Linked DNA regions of Homo sapiens: all the other regions are linked to region 4. The links are contacts of gene promoters, found by promoter capture Hi-C in blood cells and fetal thymus (Javierre and others, 2016). All regions are on one chromosome and are shown on one strand. The core of a region is centred on a gene start or on the middle of the fragment in contact, and the rest is flanking DNA. Distances in the headings are between cores, read along the strand shown. Region 1 has its middle 32 kb from the start of CREB3L2. Region 2 overlaps AKR1D1 (aldo-keto reductase family 1 member D1). Region 3 overlaps KIAA1549. Region 4 holds the start of TRIM24 (tripartite motif containing 24). Region 5 holds the start of AKR1D1 (aldo-keto reductase family 1 member D1). Region 6 overlaps LOC124901752 (a long non-coding RNA gene). Region 7 overlaps KIAA1549.

Evidence for each region. Contacts are between HindIII fragments. The CHiCAGO score rates a contact against its expected background, and 5 or more counts as called.
Region 1: a contact is called between a fragment that was not itself captured here and the fragment with the promoter of TRIM24 in region 4, in 1 of 17 cell types (total B cells). The highest score is 5.3, in total B cells.
Region 2: a fragment that was not itself captured here is called in contact with the fragment with the promoter of TRIM24 in region 4 in 2 of 17 cell types (M0 macrophages and M1 macrophages); the score reaches 7.1 in M0 macrophages.
Region 3: a fragment that was not itself captured here is called in contact with the fragment with the promoter of TRIM24 in region 4 in 2 of 17 cell types (naive CD4 T cells and total CD4 T cells); the score reaches 6.3 in naive CD4 T cells.
Region 5: a contact is called between a fragment that was not itself captured here and the fragment with the promoter of TRIM24 in region 4, in 1 of 17 cell types (M0 macrophages). The highest score is 8.9, in M0 macrophages.
Region 6: a fragment that was not itself captured here is called in contact with the fragment with the promoter of TRIM24 in region 4 in 1 of 17 cell types (total B cells); the score reaches 6.3 in total B cells.
Region 7: a fragment that was not itself captured here is called in contact with the fragment with the promoter of TRIM24 in region 4 in 3 of 17 cell types (naive CD4 T cells, total CD4 T cells and fetal thymus); the score reaches 7.2 in naive CD4 T cells.

The regions. Positions count from the first base shown.
Region 1 is chr7:138,032,285-138,034,984 of GRCh38, reverse strand. No RefSeq gene overlaps it. Among named protein-coding and RNA genes, the nearest start is that of CREB3L2, 32 kb to the right of the region's middle. RefSeq lists an enhancer at 2,546-2,700. The HindIII fragment of the contact is 5,322 bases long and covers 1-2,700 here.
Region 2 is chr7:138,111,319-138,114,018 of GRCh38, reverse strand. AKR1D1 (aldo-keto reductase family 1 member D1) reads right to left here. Exons shown (of 9, transcript NM_005989.4): 8 at 247-329. Among named protein-coding and RNA genes, the nearest start is that of MIR4468, 11 kb to the left of the region's middle. The HindIII fragment of the contact is 1,926 bases long and covers 372-2,297 here.
Region 3 is chr7:138,870,107-138,872,806 of GRCh38, reverse strand. KIAA1549 reads left to right here. Exons shown (of 20, transcript NM_001164665.2): 13 at 1,445-1,650. Among named protein-coding and RNA genes, the nearest start is that of ATP6V0A4, 73 kb to the right of the region's middle. The HindIII fragment of the contact is 3,494 bases long and covers 1-2,700 here.
Region 4 is chr7:138,458,987-138,461,686 of GRCh38, reverse strand. It overlaps TRIM24 (tripartite motif containing 24), which reads right to left and starts at 1,428. Exons shown (of 19, transcript NM_015905.3): 1 at 775-1,428. The coding sequence starts at 1,138. RefSeq lists silencers at 557-1,036, 1,067-1,316, 1,377-1,766 and enhancers at 1,277-2,059, 2,463-2,700. The HindIII fragment of the contact is 2,319 bases long and covers 397-2,700 here.
Region 5 is chr7:138,073,820-138,076,519 of GRCh38, reverse strand. It overlaps AKR1D1 (aldo-keto reductase family 1 member D1), which reads right to left and starts at 61. Exons shown (of 9, transcript NM_005989.4): 1 at 1-61. The coding sequence starts at 1. The HindIII fragment of the contact is 891 bases long and covers 869-1,759 here.
Region 6 is chr7:138,014,345-138,017,044 of GRCh38, reverse strand. All of the region lies in intron 2 of LOC124901752 (a long non-coding RNA gene), which reads right to left. Among named protein-coding and RNA genes, the nearest start is that of CREB3L2, 14 kb to the right of the region's middle. The HindIII fragment of the contact is 3,189 bases long and covers 1-2,700 here.
Region 7 is chr7:138,904,471-138,907,170 of GRCh38, reverse strand. It overlaps KIAA1549, which reads left to right. Exons shown (of 20, transcript NM_001164665.2): 6 at 69-252; 7 at 2,090-2,149. Among named protein-coding and RNA genes, the nearest start is that of KIAA1549, 76 kb to the left of the region's middle. The HindIII fragment of the contact is 2,485 bases long and covers 47-2,531 here.

The DNA of each region.
Region 1 (2,700 bases), core at 184-2,683, 430 kb after region 4:
TCTGATGGTTTTATCAGGGATTTCCGCTTTTGCATCTTCCTCATTTTCTCTTGCCGCCACCATGTAAGAAGGGCCTTTCGCCTCCTGCCATGTTTCGGAGGCCTCCCCAACCATATGGAACTGTAAGTCCAATTAAACTTCTTTTTCTTCCCCGTCTCTGGTATGTCTTTATAAGCATCATGAAAACGGACTAACACACCCTTTCTTATGTTAAACACCCAAGAGTATCCCTGTTGTAATAACTATTTTAGAAAAAAAAAAAAAAATCAGGTAAGGCTGGGTACAGTGGCTCATGCTTGCAATCCCAGCATTTTGGGAGACCAAGGCAGGAGGATCATATGGGGTCAGGAGTTCAAGAGAAATCTGGCCAACATGGTGAAACCCTGTCTCTATTTAAAAAACAAAAAAATTAGCTGGGTGTGGCAGTGCATGCCTGTAATCCCTGCTATTCAGGAGCGTGAGGTGGGAGAATTGCTTGAACCCAGAAGGCAGAGGTTGCAGTGAGCCAAGATCGTGCCATTGCACTCCAGCCTAAGTGCCATTGCACTAAGCAACAGAGTGACTCTGTCTCAAAAAAAAAAAAAAAAAAAAAAATCAGGTAACACAATACAAAAGCAAGCAGATTATGATATGAGAGGACTTTGTCTGTTTAAACTCTTGGGGGTCATAAAAAAAACAGAGGTTTTGCCCCAAAAAGGAGTCTAGCACCTTCTGTTTTCTTCAAGGAAGCCCAGGCTGTTAGAAATTATTTTAGTTTGGCTGGGCATGGTGGCTCACACCTGTAATCCCAACACTGTGGGAGGCCAAGGCAGTCAGGAGTTCGAGACCAGTCTGGCCAACGTGGTGAAACCCTATTTCTACTAAAAATACAAAAAAATTGGCCAGGTGTGGTGGCAGGCACTTGTAATCCCAGCTACTTGGGAGGCTGAGGCAGGAGAACTGCTTGAACCCAGGAGGCAGAGGTTGCAGTGAGCTGAGATCACACCATTGCACTCCAGCCTGGGCAACTACAGCAAGACTCCATCTCGAAAAAAAAAAGAAATTATTTTAGTTCCCTCATGCAGCAGAGGGTGGCAAGAGGAAGGAGAGACAGGTAGAAGTAAATGGAGAAAACATAATTCAGTCAACTGCGAAGAAAAAAACCTTTTTCTCAAAAAACAAGACCCTAGAGAGAAAGAAAACATAAAGGCCTTTTAAATATATATATATACATTATACATATTATATTATGAATTTTATATTATAGATAATATATAAATATGAATTACATATTATATAGGTAATATATAAATATGAAAATGCACACAGAGACACATTTACATCTTGGATATTAGCTTTTAATTAAGCAGACTTTTAACCTTTGAGCTCTTAAAAAATCCTTTTAAATCTCAATACCATTTTTTAGCTGGGACAAACTACTGATATTTCAAAAGTAACAGAAATGTCAAGCCAGAGATAACCTGATTTAGGAACCAACCCAGGCTGTCATGGTGAAAAACAGGGTGGAATCTTAGCTACTGATTACAATGTGAAGTCATTGCTCTATCAGTTTGGCTTGGCTAGCAAAAGGTGGCCTAGTTATGCAAATGCAGTCCCTCAAGTAGTAAAACTCTTTCTTTTTTTGCTGGCCGTTTTTTTTCCCCCCCGGCTATGGGAATTTAGCTAATTCAGAGGCTTTGTTCCGCATAATTTGGAACTTTTTTTCAGACTTGATCAAGTTGGGTAGAGTTGGTCAAACCCGAAGGAAAAAGATCAAAACAACAACAAAAACAGAAACAAAAAACAGTTAGCAAAACAAACAATTGCATAATTTATACAATAACTGAATACTCTAATGGTAAGGAAAAATTAAGATCAGCTGGTTGTTAATGTTAACTTTAGTCATTAAGGAGAATTTCCAAGACAAAACCCAAATTCAGCTACTTATCTAGGAATGGGGCCCAGGCTGAAGACTGCGCTCTACCATCTTAGAAGCAGGAAAAATCTCAAACATTCCTTCCCTGTTGGAAGTGAGCTGAAGCTCCAGGAATGAGTTGGCTGCTCTCCATCGTCATGGAAGCAAAAAAGCTGGCCTTCTTGTTGGAAGTGAATAAAACTCCAGAAAAAGGAGTTGTACAGCAAAATAAACCTTAAATCGCAACCAAATTTGGGGAGATCAAGGATTCTGTGGAGGGGAGTAGCTCCCAGACCTCAGCAAAATGTCCTGTTGGTTTGAGCAATAAAGATATTCGTTCACGCTGGTACCAAGCACCAATAGGAGATTTGTCAAAGGTAAGGGACACCTCCACTCAGAGTCCCTTACCTGGGTTGCCAATTTATAAACCAAAAAGTATTCAAGAGAGGTCTCAATTGATTAGAACTTTATTTTGCCAAAGTGAAGGATGTGTGCCTGGGAGACAGGCCTGTTTCTTTCTCCAAAGATGATTTTGAGGGCTTCAGTACTTAAAGGGGAAAAGCAGGCTGGAGGAGACAGAGGGAGGATATGGTCACATTACTGAATCCACATGTTGTAAGAGAAAAAAAGTAGGTAGGGGAATAGTCAATTATGTATTCATCCTGTGCTCACTATACCATAAGGTGACCACAGAATAGCTACTTGTGGAGATTTTTAACTTATCTGTAGCTTGCTGCTTAGTAACAAAATGGAAAGTAGCTTCTTGCATGACTCAGTTTTCAGGTTAATTTTTTTTTCTTTTGGCA
Region 2 (2,700 bases), core at 85-2,584, 350 kb after region 4:
ATGCCTTCACCGAAGTCACAAAATGTCACAGATGCCAGGACTCTTCTTTTCAGTGAGAGTGTAGGGTTGTGGAAGGCCCTGTAGTGGATGTATTTCCCTCAGGCATGTTAACATTCAGAATATGCGGCCCACCATGCTTTGCCCTGGTGCTATGGACATAGGTCAGGGTTCTTATGAGCCTTGTTGCTTGACACATGACCATTCAATACCACTGGTCAATACCCATTAATGATCCCCGGAACTTACATGAGCAATTCTACAAAGCGGACATTTTTATTCAAGGCTTCAATGTCCTTCATTTCTTCTTCAGTGAGAGAAAAGTCAAAGATCTGAAATAACGGAAATAATAGAACATTTTTGAAGGTCAAGCTTGGGATCAGAAAGTGGGGCCACCGGTGGGAGCCTTCCAAAGATGTATGAATATCTCTGCAAATGTCTAAGAGGAGTCAGGCTGGTGTTGGGGGGCTACCCACTGAGGTGGAGCTGGATACTCTGTTCTGCCCTTTGTTTTTGAGACGGTCTTTCTGGGGACATCTTACAAGAAATTCCAAATGCTCTGAAACCACAAATGTTAATGAAATCCCCTAAAATTTCAAATGTGAAGAATTCTTATTTCTGTATGAAATGCTGGTCTTTTGATTCTGAACTACTGTCTTACACTTAAAAAATTCTGAGTCTCTAAATATGATTTTTTTTTTTTTTTGAGACAGGGTCTTACTCTGTCACCCAGGCTGGAGTGCTGTGGTATCATCTTGGCTCACTGCAACCTCCACCTCCTGGGTTCAAGCTAGTCTCATGCCTCAGTTTCCCAAGTAGCTGGGACTACAGACATGTTTTGCCATGCCTGGCTAATTTTTCAATTTTTGTAGAGATGGGGTTTCACCATGCTGCCCAGGCTGGTCTCAAACTCCTGAACTCAAGCGATCCTCCCACCTCAGCCTCCCAAAGTGCTGCAATTACAGGCATGAGCCTCACCACGCCTGGCCTAAATTTGCTTTTTAAAAAAACTTTTAATTTGCTTTGTTTTTAACTTTTAATTTGCTATGTTGAAATCCTTTCTCTCATTTTTTATGTCTCTTCTACCTTTTTATTCTAATTACATTTCCATTGTTTTATTTTTCTTAGATTTTATACTTTATTTATATTCTGGTTTTATGATTGTCCCTTATTAACATTTATATATATTTTTTCACTTCCTTTTATTTTTAACATTTGGATTATCTGTATATAACCTATCTTCTCTTTATTATTTTATCTTTCTATCCTTTAACTTTTAATATATTTAATTATTAATAGATTTTAATTATATAAGTAGTACATAAATATACGCTCTTTGCAAAGAAATGAAACACTGTAGAAGTACATAGACCCATATGGAATAAATAATGAAAATCTTGTCACTCATCACCCCATTCTTATTTCCCTTCCCAGATATTCCTCCCAAATACTACACACATTAAGAGGAAAATGCAGTAATTGGACCATATCTTTATGATTCTACAACTTTCCTTTATTCACATAATATCTTAGTGACCCCAGTGATAGTTCTATCACAATATGCAACCTGACTTTATTCATTTAGCCATGGTATTCATTGTGTAGATGGAACACGATTTACTTAATTATCCCTCCATGGATTCTTTCCAAGTACTCTTTTCAGGGAACCATTTTCTTTTATGATTTATTATCCAATTATTGGCATTTATGAGATTACATAAGGAATCAAAAATGTGCACAATATAAAAATGAATGAATCGCCTATAAAATGAATCCTTACTCAGACTTCTTTTTTGCTAAACACTAGTCCTCTCCTTTAAGTCTTGGAGGATCAGCCTCTTATCCAGTAAATATATGGAATAATCTAATGGCAAAGTGAGGTTGCAAACCTTGCAAAGATGCAGGATTTTATGAAATCAAAGAAAATGATCTTGGAGATTTGTTCTAATTATAGGTATGATCTTTTTCAAAGAAGAATCCTGCACAGTTAAAAATCTACTTTGATAGATATGTCAAAAGAGTGTGACTTGAAAAAAAAATTAAAGAATTAAAAATCTCCTTCAGATAAAGCCCTCCAAAATTTTTGTGATAATTATTCTCTTTATGAACATTCTGCAAAACTTTTGTGAAATAGAGGATGTCATGTTGTGGTATGTAATTTTGTCAAGCATATTTAAAAAAAATCAACACTGATTCACTGTTTCTTCTGAGTTAATAAACTTGCAATTGTAACCTACATTTTGTTGAGAATAGAAGTGAACTTACTTTCATAAACTTTGGTTTCGATCTTAATATAAGCTTTCAAATTCACCCTCTCTACATTATTTCTGTGTCATGTTTTTTCTTGTCGTATGTGGATTAATTTTCAGTGGTCTTTTTTTTCTCCCATGGCACAAATTATCCTAAGTGAATGAGGATCTCATATTACAAAACTGAGCTCCTGATAGTTCTTCTCAAACTGCTTCCCCTACAGTTTTCCCTTTCAGTAAATGTTTGAAGAAGGAGATATTGTTAACTGTATCAGATGTGGTTGAAAGACCAAGTGGGACAAGGACTGAGAATTACTGGATCTAGCAATGTGGAGGTCACTGGTAACTTTGACAAGGGCTGTTCCAGTGGGATGGTCAGGGTAAAAGTTTGGTTTGAATGGCTTCAAGAGATAGTGGGGGAAGGGAATGGGAAGCAGCGAGAACAACTTCTCTT
Region 3 (2,700 bases), core at 3-2,502, 410 kb before region 4:
TCAGCCTTCTGAGTGACTAGGACTACAGGCATGTGCCACCACGCCCAACTAATTAAAAAAAATTGTAGAGACAAGGTCTTAACTATGTTGCCCAGGCTGGTCTCAAACTCCTGGGCTCAAGCAATCCTCTTGCCTCAGCCTCTCAAAGTGCTGGGATGACAGGCATGAGCCATTGTGCCTGGCCAGTTGATCTTCTTAAGTGTGAGTAACTAGCTCTTTCTACTCAGCCCGTCTTCATTTTTCTCTTTCTCTTTTTTCAAAATTAAAGTGTATTGGGATTATCTCTACTGTAAAAATAATACTTATTACAGAAAATCCTCATTATCAAAAATAAAAGACATGGGGAAAAATCACCCATCATGTGAAGATTCAGTCTCTGTTAATATTTTTAAGTGTTTCTTTTCTGTCTTTTTTTTTGTGCATTTGAATTTCTTTTTTTTTTTTTTCACAGTTCTGATTAGTTTTTAAGAAAATTATTGTGGTTGAATATACATGGCCTAAAATTTGCCATGTAACCATTTATACATGTACTCTTCAACTGTTTTTAAAGTAGGAACTAGCGCCGGGCCCGGTGGCTCCTGCCTGTAATCCCAGCACTTTGGGAGGCCGAGGCAGGTGGATCACTTGAGGTCAGGAGTTCAAGACCAACTTGGACAATATCGTGAAACCTTGTCTCTACTAAAAGTATTAATACAAAAGTTAGCTAGGCATGGTGGCATGCTCCTGTAATTCCAGCTACTCAGGAGGCTGAGGCAGGAGAATCACTATCCAGCCTAGGCGAGAGAGTGAGACTCCGTCTCAAAAAAATAAAAAATAAATTAAAAAAATAAATAAAGTAGGAACTAATTCCCTGCAAGCAACAGGTTTTTTCTTCTCATGTGTCTTCAACTTCGTTTTCTTTCCACATCAGAACTGAAAAGTCAGAAGTGTGGTCACTGTTAACTGGTACCTGCCTGCACGTACTGGTCTTCTGTTTTCTCTGTAGTACGACATTGCCTTGGCAGCTGAATTTGTATCACTCCAGCGAGCTCCCTGCCAGATGGTAGCAATAGTTCAGAGCCGCTATAAATGTGTTTTCTGAGAGTTCTGTGAATGGCTTATTGACTACTGAGCAACTTCAGGCTCCTTCTGTCCTATATTCTTTCTGAATGAAGATTTTGAACCACAGACAAAACAGTGCAGTTTTTCACACAGTATCATAATGATTTCCTCACGTCTCTTCTTAGGGTACTTGTAATTTTTAATGAAGTTAGAGGATACAGTATATAGCCCAGACTATTTAAGCTCAGAGAGTGAAATTGTAAACACTCTGCTACTGCAGTGGGGATGTATTTTTGGTCAGAGGCCCATCCAAAGATTCTTTAAAGAATAATTCACAATTTTGATTAGTTGCTGTTTCTTTAGATGACTTCGTGTATGTGTTTTGCTTTTCCTTCTGTTCCAGGGCCACCACTGCCCAGTTCGGGAAATGAGCAGCACTCATCAGCCTCCATCTTCGAGCACGTGGACAGGATCTCCCGCCCCCCGGAGGCTAGCCGGCGGGTCCCCAGTAAGATCCAGCTTATCGCCATGCAGCCGATCCCGGCACCTCCCGTCCAGCGCCCCTCCCCAGCCGACCGAGTGGCGGAAAGCAATAAAATCAACAAAGAGGTATTTGCTTTTATTTAAAAGTCTGTTACTTAAAAAACTCGGCTAAGCCCGGTGGCTTATGCCTGTAATCCCAGCACTTGGGGGGGCCAAGGCAGGCAGATCGCCTGAGGTCGGGAGTTTGAGACCAGCCTGGCCAACATGGTGAAACGCCATCTCTACTAAAAATACAAAATTAGCTGGGCGTGGTGGCGGGTTCCTGTAATCCCAGCTGCTCAGGAGGCTGAGGCAGGAGAATCACTTGAACCCGGGAGGGGGAGTTTGCACTGAGCCGGGATCTCGCCACTGCACTCCAGCCTGGTTGACAGAGTGAGACTCCATCTCAAAACAAAAACAAAAACAAAAAAAACTCACACACTTATTGGGTCTGTGTTTGAAAATGAGTGCAAGGTACAGTGTCAACTAGTTACTGAAGGCATAAGCTGCTGACAAGGATTCTTAATGTAAAACATCACGCTTGTTGGAGATCAGATACTGTGCATGGACACTCTGGGGCGCATTGGCAGACATGCAGAAAAGTGTTAGTGCGGCCGACCAGGGGCTGCCCTCCTCAGAAAGAGCCACTTCAGCTTCTGATCCTCCTCACGCTTCAACGCAGTTCAGGTTTCCGTCTTTGGGGATACCACTCTGGGGGCAGGGGGTCTCATGTCAGGTAACTTGTTTTGGTGACACTAGGTAATTATCCTCTTTATATCTGTCAGTCCTATTTATTAAAGATCTCTAAAGGAGGAAAATATTCTTTTCTGGTTATCAGATGTCTCTTTAAAGTTGTCATTGGCCGATTTCCAAGGTTCGAGTGACTTTTTTTCCCTGCTTTGGGGGATGGTGACAAGACTCCAGTGCACCACACAGTGCTTGAGGGTAAAGCTCGTGGGATGGCAGGGTCTCTGCTCCTCCCTGGTCTGTGCCTGTCGCTCTCTCGGTGACTCCGTGGAGCTTACAGACAGCAAGTTAAGTGTGGGCCAGAGGAGAGGAGCATAGCAGGAAGGCGCTCCTAGAAGGCTTTGCTGGCTGGGCATGGTGGCTCACACCTGTAATCCCAGCACTTTGGGA
Region 4 (2,700 bases), core at 179-2,678:
TTAGCAATGGAACACCTGTCAAAAGTCTAATTTTACAGTAATAAACACCACAAAGAGAACAGTAACTTCCAGCTTTATCTATAAAATACCAGAAAACCCAAATCACTTTGTATTATTTCTCTTCGCCGTCTCAAAATAAAACCTTTGAAAGAGACACACAACAAAACAACGTCTCTTGGTTCCTTTGTCCCCAGCAGAGGAGAGGGAAGAGAACTGGGAACTCATTAAGGTAAAGAGCCCCAAACATGCAAGATAAGAAATAAATGACATCCGATCTGCAATCAATCATCAAAGAAAGTCACCATCACTTCATCTTCATCCCTCCCTTCTCCCCTGCAGCTCAAATAACGTGAGTATAGACGAGATGATCAGGATCATATGGACCTGGACAAAGCTTTGTGGAGGCAGCGGGCGGGTAGCAGTTAACTGGCTGCAGCCGGCAAAGAACCCGAGATTCCGGCTGCAGGAGACTCCGACAGAGGTCTGCAAAAGTGCGAGTGGCAGGGGCCGCCCGGCTGTTGAGAATGCGGAGCAGCGGCGGCGGCGGCGGCGCGGTCAAGTCCACAGCGCCCGGGGAAGTTGCTGGCCGAGCGCGACACGCCGCAGAGCGCGGGCCCTCCATGTCACCGTCGCCAGCACAGACCCTCCTGCTCGCCCCTCCCCCGCCGCGCACCCCGGGCGGCGGCGACATGACAGCGGGTCGCGCCGCACAAGGGCGCCCGCCCCCTCCTGGCCCTCTCCCCGGGCTCCCCAGCGGCCGCGGCCGGTTCTCACCTTGGGTGGCGAACGGCGACGAGCCGCTGACCGGCGAGCCGGGGGCAGGGACGGGTGGCGGGGTCTCGGCCGAGCCCAGCATGGGCGCGGGCAGCATGAGGTAGCGCTGGGGCGCGGGCAGGCAGCGCTGGCAGAAAGAGTGCAGGCAGGGCAGCAGCTTGGGCGCCCGGCTCTGGATGTTCTGGTGGCACACGGCGCAAGTGTCCAACAGGTTGAGCCGGGCCGCCTCGCCGCCGCGCTCCGAGTCCGGGCCCTGCCGACTCTCGGCCTCGTTCTCCCCGCTCGGCGCCGCCGAGGGCCCCCCGGAGGCCGCAGCCGAGGCCGCTGCCGCCGCCGCCACCGCCTTCTCCACCGCCACCTCCATTGTCCTGCCCTTGCCGCCGCCGGGGAAGCGAGAGCGCGGTCTCCGCCCGCCGCCCCCGACGACCTCCTCCTCCTCCTGCGGCTGCTCCTCAGAGGCCGCTCGGTGGACTCGCGGCAGCGCCAGCGAGGGAGGGAAAGCAAACCGGGCGGGGGAAGCCTCCTCAGGCCCACGGGATCCGCCTCCCGAGTGGCGCGGCCGGAAGGAGGGTATCTGTCAGCGGAGACCGTTCCTCGCACCGGGGAGGCTGCACCCCGTCCGCTTCGCCAACCGCCGAGGCGCTCGTGGAATACGCCCAGCCCGCCCTTGCCTCCCCGCCTTTCTCTTCATCCCCCTGGCCCACCTCAGGCCCCGCCCCCGCCCCCGCCCTCCCTCTCCCAGCAACTGAGGCTTCGGTGTGGAGCGCGCCGCCCAATAGCGGCCGCGCCTGGCGAGGGGGCGGGACCTGTTGGAGCCCGCGAGGCTCCGTCGGCCGCGGCGGGAGGTTGGGAAGTGGGAGGTGCTTGCCCAGCCCCGCCCCCTCCGGACGCCTGAAATCGCGGCTTCTGATTGGGCCTTTGTGTATGTTTCCTCCTCTGAAAAGATTAAGGGTTCATTTGTTAACGACCATCCGCCTGATTCGGTCCGCGGTGTTAGCTCCTCCTAGGGGGCGGGACCTCACTTGTCTACTCAATGCCGTTAATTAAGTAACTGCTTGGAAAACTGATTTCATTACTGGAGACCTGGTCTTGTAGGAGGAGTAAATATGGTCGGAGGGTCACAGGAGGAAGGAGTGGAGGTACTGAAGAGCAAACAAGGAAATAATTTTTTAAAATACTGTGTGAAAGAGGTACTCTGGAGGCAGCAGGGATATTGCAACCTAATTTTACTCATCTCTAGAATGAATGAGTATGAAGAATAAGGGGGGGAAGTTCTCGTGCAAGTTGGAAATTTTTAAAGGGTTTCCCCAATGAAAAAGGTGAAATTAATTTTTAAAGTCAGTGATTTGCTTTTTAAGTGACTAAAAGTGGTTCGTTTTCCCAGGAATTAATACAGATTGACAAATGTTTTTATTGCATAAATATAGCATCATTAAGCAAAAATAAACCTCAATACTGTTACCCAAATAATTCATAACTTCAGGATTCTTTTGTATTTCCTCCCTCCCTCTTATTTTATTCCCTCCCTCCCTCCCTCACCTCTCTACGCTGATATCAGAAGTTACGCACATTTTTCACTCAAAAAATGGCGCAGCTTTTAAGGAACTTGAAGAATAGAAACGGAATGAAGGAAACAAGATTTTGTAACACGTAACTTTAAGAAGTATTTACCTTTTTTTTTTTTTTTTGTCAATACTAATGAAGCGGTACTGGACTTTAGAGAAAGATGGAGTGGGTCATGAAAGGCTTTGCTAAAATCACAGTTTTCCTGGAGGACTATATGGGATGGCAATGGGGGAGGGCTAGGCAACGTAGCCTTCCTTCAAGACCTTGCCCTTAAACACAACCTCCGTAGGCCTCAAGTGAGAGGTTCTTTTACTTAATCACAAGACATTCAACAGCTCTTCCCGCCTCCCCCACCCATTG
Region 5 (2,700 bases), core at 65-2,564, 390 kb after region 4:
TTGTGGAGAACCTGACTGTAGGAGTGATTCTGAACACCACAGGGAGTCTTTTTAGAAAGGTGTCCTAGGGCCTATTCCATCAAAGAAAGGAAGGCCAGAGGGAGGAGCAGAGGGAAGGGAGATTAACACACCTATTTCTCAACCTGTTTTTTTTTCCAGGTTGTCCTGGAAATCCTAAGCATGGTTGTCCTTTGAACTTCATCAGAGGCTTGTAAAACGTAACCTATTGAGAGTTTATGCTTACTTCTTCACAACAAAAGATTGAAAAAACAAAAAGAAACAAATCTGTCTGGCCTCTATCAGTTAGGATGCTTTTGTTGGCAAATAAGAGACTGACATAGTTTGGCTGCGTCCTCAACCAAATCTCATCTTGAATTGTAGCTCCCACAATCCCCAATGTCATGGGAGGGACTCAGTGGGAGGTAATTGAATCATGGGGGTGTTTTTTTCCCATGCTGCTCTTGTGATAGTGAATAAGTCTCACAAGATCTGATGGTTTTATGAAGGACAGTTCCCCTGCACATGCTCTCTTGCCTCCTGCCATGTAAGACATGCCTTTGCTCCTCTTTCACCTTCTGCCATGATTGTGAGGCCTCCCCAGCCATGTGGAACTGTGAGCCCATTAAATCTCTTTTTCTTTGTTAATTACCCAGTCTTGGTTGTCTTTATTAGCAGTGTGAGAATGAACTAATACACACATCTATCTTAAATTCTCTTAAACTATAATGGAAATTTATTGGTTCATATTCCTCAAATTCTGGCAGTAGGGCTAGCTTCAGGGGAGACTAGACATTTTCTAGGACTTCCTGGGAGATTTGGATGCAGCAGGACTGGAAAGGGATCTAGGATCTTTATCACAAGTTAAGCTTATCACCAGTTAAACTGGACTAGAGGAACAATAACATGGCCAGGACCAATTTCTCACTTCTCATTCGTCTCTCTGCCTTCCTGTTCTCTCAGGAAACTCTCTCTCTCAGTTCCCTTAACATTGAAAAGTGTTTACTGACTGTCCTTGGAGTGACAAGGTTTCCAGCTCAAACAACGAAAAAGAGATTTTACTTTCTCAGTAGCTCAAACAGTAGTCCTGAAATTGAAACTTGTTAGCCTTGATTGCCTTTCTTGGTTCATGGATCCATCGTGAAATCAATCACAGTGGCCAAAGGAAATAAAAGACATTTCCTTAAAAAAATTAGAAGCCATTTCCAAATTTGGAGCTGGGGGTTGAAGGAGGCAGGAAATTCCACCCCAACATATGGCTCCCTGGTATAATGAAGATTTTGAAGTAAAGACCCTTAGAGATCAACGGGCTCTGGAAGAGACTTTCCCCTGTCTACATAAAGATAGGATGGACCCACCAAGGAGGACAATTGTTCTTTTTCCCCTACCTGTTATCTCATGATCCATTACAAAAAAAGAAGACAAAGAATGTGTTGGGAGTCAGAAACTGATACCCCAAAATATGGCACTTTGACATACTGAACTGGAAAAGCCTCAAGGTCCCTCTGACCTCTACTCCCTACCACCTCTCCCAAAGTGAAGTTCCTTTATCTGCCTAAGATCCAGACCCACCAAAAGGAACAATTCGTTTTTCTTCCTCTCCCTGTAAGACTAAGAATGTAACCTTTCCTGAACAAACCCTTTCACAAGGTAATGTACAAGTTAATCTCTACTCCCTGATCCATTCATTCTCCCTAGTGATCTCCTCAACAGAATTCCTCTTTTCCCCTCTCCCATAACCTGATTTACCAGTAAATAAGCTTCTAAACCCTGTTGTGGGTGGGTAATCACTCTGTGGTTCTCCCTGTGTAAACATATAGTTAAATAAAATTGAATACCTTTTCTCCAATTAATCTGCCTTTTGTGAGTTGATTTTTCAGTGAAACTTCAGAAGGCAAAGAGGAAGTTTCCCTGGCCTGTACACTTCACAGGTCACTGAGTCCACAATGGTTAAAATGTCCTGAAGTTGAAACTGGCCAAATTGTCCCATATTTATGGATTTTTGAATAAACATAGAAATGTGCCCTCTGTCTTAAAACTTGAAACTTATGTCTTAACTGAGTTTTTTCCTCAGGAAACTGACCCTCAGGCAAGGGACTGAAACTCACTAGATCACCACATCCTGATACTGAGATACCAAATACCTGATTCATCAGGATTTCTTCTTTATCCCTCCCTAATTTCTTTTCGCACCTTCCCTGCTATGTAAACAGATCAATTTTGGTCAGTCAGGGAGACAGATTTGAGACTGAACTCCCACTTTCCTTGACTGCAGGACTAGATTAAAGCCTTCTTCTCTGGCAATCCTTGTTGACTTAGTGATTGGCATTCCGTGCAGGGAGCATCACAATCTTGACTGAACTCCAGGTATTTCAGCAATAAAGTTTGTCTATAATTGACTTGCCCTCCCTCCAACAGTCATTCTTGCTTATGTACACATTAACACATAACGTATATATAACATGTTCAGTATTCAGCTAGACACAGTAATTTAAACTAGGCTGTGGCAATGTGGAACATAGCAGTAATGGTCTTTAATATCATTTTTAAATTGATACAACAAATGCTTACTGTGCACCTTTGTGTGCTAAAATGTTGATTAGCATGTGTTTGTTATTTTTATTATTACTGAGTTTTTGCTATTTAGTTCTATGCATTTTAACACATATATAGATTTTTGTAACCACCACTACAATTGGGATA
Region 6 (2,700 bases), core at 142-2,641, 440 kb after region 4:
TGCCTGAGCTCCGCCTCCTGTCAGATCAGCAGTGGCATTAGATTCTCATAGGAGTATGTACCCTATTGTGAACTGTGCATGCGAGGGATCTAGGGTGTGTGCTTCTTATAAGACTCTAATGCCTAATGATCTGTCACTATCTTCCATCATCCCCAGATGGGACAGTCTAGTTACAGGAAAACAAGCTCAGGGCTCCCACTGATTCTATATTGTGGTGAGTTGTAGAATTATTTCATTATATATACAATGTAATAATAATAGAAATAAAGTGCACAATATATGTAATGTGCTTGAATCATCCCCAAACCATTACCCTCTTCCCGGGCTCCATGGAAAAATTGTCTTCCACGAAACCAGTCCCTGGTGCCAAAAATGTTGGGGACTGCCGACTTAGAAGATTTAGCTGTTTCTATTAAACAACATTAAATGTCCTATTTATCAAAAATTACACAAGCAAAGATCATTCTTTTTGGGGCTAGGTTTATAGTTTTTTAACTTTTATGCCAAATTTTGATGCCTTATAATATCTGGCAGAGATAAGTATGAAACCACTTGATCAATAAATCTGAACAAAAATGTATATTGACAATTCATAAGACATTTCTAATATTATTTTACCAATAATTTTAAAGCCAGCTTATTTATTCAAGATTTTCCTTAAGTCTCATGAGTACTCCTTAACTTCAAGTCAATTTGGTACCTTGTAGCAGCAACATATAACAAAATACATGTGTGTACACATAAACACACATATACACACTCATATAAACAAAGATCTTATAGCTTTCATTTTTGAACTCTAGCTAAGAGATATCAATGCAAACTCATCTGTTTATTAAAAAACAGTTGAATCCAAATGGTGGTTTTTGTCTTAACACCGGTAAAGTAACAGCAGATTTAAAGCAGGCAGAAAAGAAAATAGAGGAATATATAGTCTGGCCAGCCTCTGCATAGGAGCCAGGTTTTACAAGCAGGGCATGAGAAAGAGGAAAAGGAAATAAGAAGAAACAGTAAAGCGATAGAAAGGGAGCTCGTGAGCTTCCAGCCACTACACGGCACAGGGTTGATACTCCCATCACCCCTGTTTATCTCCCATTCAGGAGAGCCTCAGCACCCCAGGTCCACATGATATGGGATGGGACCCTCCCACCTTCACAAGTCACTGGTCAAGATGAGCTGTTTCCAGTCATAGGGAGCTAGGGAAGCCTGCAGTTGAGAGGACTAAGGCTGTAGGTGGCTCTCTGAAGATAGTTAGAAGAGTGAGATTGGAGGTAGAGAGGAAAGAAAGAAATCAGGGCCCATTCACAAAGTACATGCAAACAAACAGCATACTTCCAAATGAGTCTCCAATCAAGGAGGCTGAGTGAGATGCTGAATGCCCCTCCCCAGGTCCAAATGGTTCCATAGGCCCAGCAAAGCTCCCATGGTGCCACACTTACAAACAGAAACACCTAAAATGCTCAAATGGTGTCACTAGCAGCCAAGTCTTAGGTAGAACCGGGCCCCAGTGACACCCCAAAAGAAGCAGAGGGTGATCAGGTGCACTTCCAGCTAACTCAGCCACTTCCAAAGTTTGCCGGGTCTTACAGAGGTCACTTTCTTTATACCAGCAGAGAGTTGAAGGCAGCAAATGTGCTGTGAGGCGAAAGGGAGGCTCCCCCAAACCAAAAGCATTTTTGGCAGCTGCTGAGAAGTTCCTGAATGTTCCTGTCATGAGATCTGCTAGCCATGAGCAGCTGGTGCTCACAGGTGACCCCAACAAAACCTTGCCCGGTAGCAAAAGCCGGCTGTCAGGCACAGATTCACCCAGAGCATGCAGCACTTTCCCTATATGGGCCACCAAAATTGTAACCGAAATGCAGGTTCAGCTATTTGCTGCTTGCAGAGTCCAGTTAATAAAAGTGAGTTCTGGTATAAAGAAAGTGATTTTTTTTTTTTAAATTATTCCAAAGCTAGCTGAGGGGAACAAGTACAGGCTTCCTGCCTAGGGGTATCACTTTGCTTTTGGAGCAGGAAGTAAGCACTTTTAAAGGGGGCTTAACATGAATGGCACATGGGGTCGGGGGAAGTAAGCAAGTGCAGCATCTACATGTTAGTTTGGTACCTTATCTACTAGGTAGTCAAGGTGGTGACTGCCTGTGTCTTTGTGGGCATGTGTACTTTGGGTTGTAAATTGACTGTTATCTCTCAAGGCAACCTCCTGGTGGGTGAGATTTCCTTTCTGGAGCTCCTAAGCAGATAGTTAGATGAACTTACCCTGTAGGGAATGTCTGGTGAAGGGGAGGTAAAAGGCTATATTTGCATTTCTAAAGGACTAACTAGAAAGTGGGAAAAGGAGGAAAGAGAAAAGAAGATAGAAAAAATAAATTATCTCTTAGAAAAATGGGGATGGTTGGTTACAGTTCCAGCTACTTGGGAAGCTGAAGCAGGAGGGTTGCTTGAGCCTGGGAGGTCAAGGCTGCAGTGAACCATGATCACACCACTGCATTCCAGCCTGGGTGACAGAGTGAGACCCTGTCTCAAAAATGAAAAGTGATACGGTTTTGCTCTGTGTCCCCACCCAAATCTCATCTCGAATTGTAATTCCCATGTGCTGAGGAAGGGACCTGTAGTCCCCATGTGTCGAGAAAGGGAGATGATTGGATGATGGGGGCAGTTTCCTCCATGCTGTTCTCGTGATAGTGAGTGAGTTCTCATGAG
Region 7 (2,700 bases), core at 40-2,539, 450 kb before region 4:
AGAAATCATGGTTAAGCTTTCAGCAGAATGTTTTATTATAGAAGCTTATTCTGACTTTATTCTTTCAGATCTTGAATATCACCATCAGTTCCTCAAGGGTGACTCCTCGGCGGGGCCCGGTGAATATCATCTTTGCGGTTAAAAGCACACAGGGATTTTTGAATGGGTCGGAAGTGAGCGAGCTGCTCAGAAACTTGAGTGTGGTGGAGTTCAGTTTCTATCTGGGATACCCAGTGCTGCAGATCGCAGAGCGTGAGTACAGCCCTCTTGGACATGCTGGGGAGGTGATGGCGGGCATTTTTGGTGGAAGACCTCTTCTTAAAATTTTTTTAGTTTTTTAAAAGACTTGATTTTTTAAAAATTATTTTTCCATAAGGCGTTGGGGTACAGGTGGTATTTGGTTGCACGAGTAAGTTATTTAGTGGTGATTTTTGAGATCCTGGTGCACCCATCACCCGAGCAGTATACACTGCTCCACATTTGTAGTCTTTTATCCCTCCTCCCGCCACTCTTCCCCCCAAGTCTCCAAAGTCCATTGTATCATTCTTATGCCTTTGTGTCCTCATAGCTTAGCTCCCACATATCAGTGAGAACATACGATGTTTGGTTTTCCATTCCTGAATTATTTCACTTAGAATAATAGTAAAAGACTTGAGTTTTTTTAGTGAAGTTTTTGGATTCACAGCAGATATGATCGGAGAGTTCACAGATTTCCCATATACCTCCTGCTTCCGCACATTCATAACCTCCATTATCAGCATCCCCCAGCACAGTGGCCCATTTGTTACAGTGATCAACCTGCATTGGTTGATCCTGCATCATTGGTTGAACCTGCATCATCATCCATAGCCCATAGTTTACATTAAGGTTCACCCTGGGTGTCGTGCATTCTGTGGGTTTGAACAAATGTGTAATGACATGCAAATGGCATGGATTCTCCATTTTAGTATCATACAGAGTATTTTCACCTGGACCACTTTTTTCAAATGAAATATCTGATTTGAGTGCCAGAATATAAATCTGATAAAACTGGATTCAGGCCAGATGGGTCTGCAGAGCCCTGCTCACCCACCGTGCCTGACTTTATTATTTGGAGAGTAAAGGGGTGCTATCAAAAAGTACACGAATTCTGGAAAAGGCATAATTTAGGGAGGACGAATCTGTGGTTGTCAGAGCTTAAGGGCCGCAGGAAAGTTTGACTACAAAAGGGTAGCAGAAGGCAGTGTTTTGGGGGTTGTGAAACTGTTCTATATCTTCATTGTGGTGATGATTATGTGAATATATACACATTTATCAAAACCCATAAAACTGTATACTGAAAAGAGTGACATTTACTGTGTAAATTTTAAAATAAAAACAATAAGTGAAAACATGAAACCTTTCTTCCTGACTGAAGCAACTAGCTTCACAATGCCAATGGAGGCAGTGGGGGAAAGGGGAGACGTTTATTTAAAAAAAAAAAATAGTAGATTCCAGAGTTGAAATCAGGCCAAAAAATTCCAATTCTTTTTCAAAATGAAACAACCAAATGGCCTAATGATTCGTAGTGTATTTTAGTGTATTGTTAATTAAACTAAAAAGAATAACTTTACAGAAGTTATTCTATATGAAAGTAGACAGAGATAAAGCTGTTATTTACAAAGAGCCGCTTTCAGTTGTGCTCAGTGTGTGTATGGCTAAAATGAGGATGCCGGACGGCGGGGCACACTGGCTGGTCCTGGGCAGGTCAACGCATGTGGTCACTTTACCCTGAGACCTTGCTGGGAAAGCCAGGGCTCTGAGGGGCACGGTGTGAACATGGATTGCTGTGGAACAGTGACATTCAAAGGAGAACTTGCCGGTGACCTCTCTGTGAAGCAGTGTCCTGTGACATAGCTGGAGCGGCCCTTCTTTTCTTTTTATCTCTCTCTTTTTCCTTGAGACTAATGTGTTCAGAAATGGCTACTGTCCACGTCCTCACGCTAATCTGACATTTTGTTCTTTCACATTTAGAGCTAAATAGTAAAGACGATGTGTTGGGACTTTGTTGTAAACATGGCTTTGTTTTTACAGATATTTTTCTCCTTCCCTAATTCTTTCCCTTTTGTAGCCTTCCAGTATCCACAGCTCAACTTATCTCAGTTGCTGAAGTCCTCTTGGGTCAGAACAGGTATGTTTAACTTATGTAATATTTTGGGAACTGTAAGGAGAAGAAGTCTATGCAGGCGTATTGAGAATGATGCTGCCTTTCTTGTTTCCTAAATTTAGGGCAAAATGTACCTTACATTCTTGGCAAAGAATGAATGGAAAGGGATTCAAATTTGGCTGTGGGAATATATCCCACTGAGTTATAGAACAAAAAGGACTGACTTTCTTTAAAATTCATACATCAAGTTCAGGGCAGAGTCTAACAGGAACTGACAATCTTCTGACCCAGAATAGGGTGAGGTTTAGAAGCAAGGATCTCTCTCTTGTTTTATTTTTTTTTTTCTAAAAGTGTTATTTGTTTAGTTTAATAAGGACAAGCAGGGTGGCTTGGCACCTGGGAAGCTTTTTTTTTTTTTTTTTTTGTCTTAGGGGAGTGGGTCAGATATTTAGAGGTATGGCATTGCAGTTGAAGGCCTTTCTAACCTAGTGCACAAAAGTCTGAACAGTACTTACGTACTCACCAGCTGTCCAGTGTGCATGCAGCACAGGAACTAGCTGGGCACGAGAGAGCAT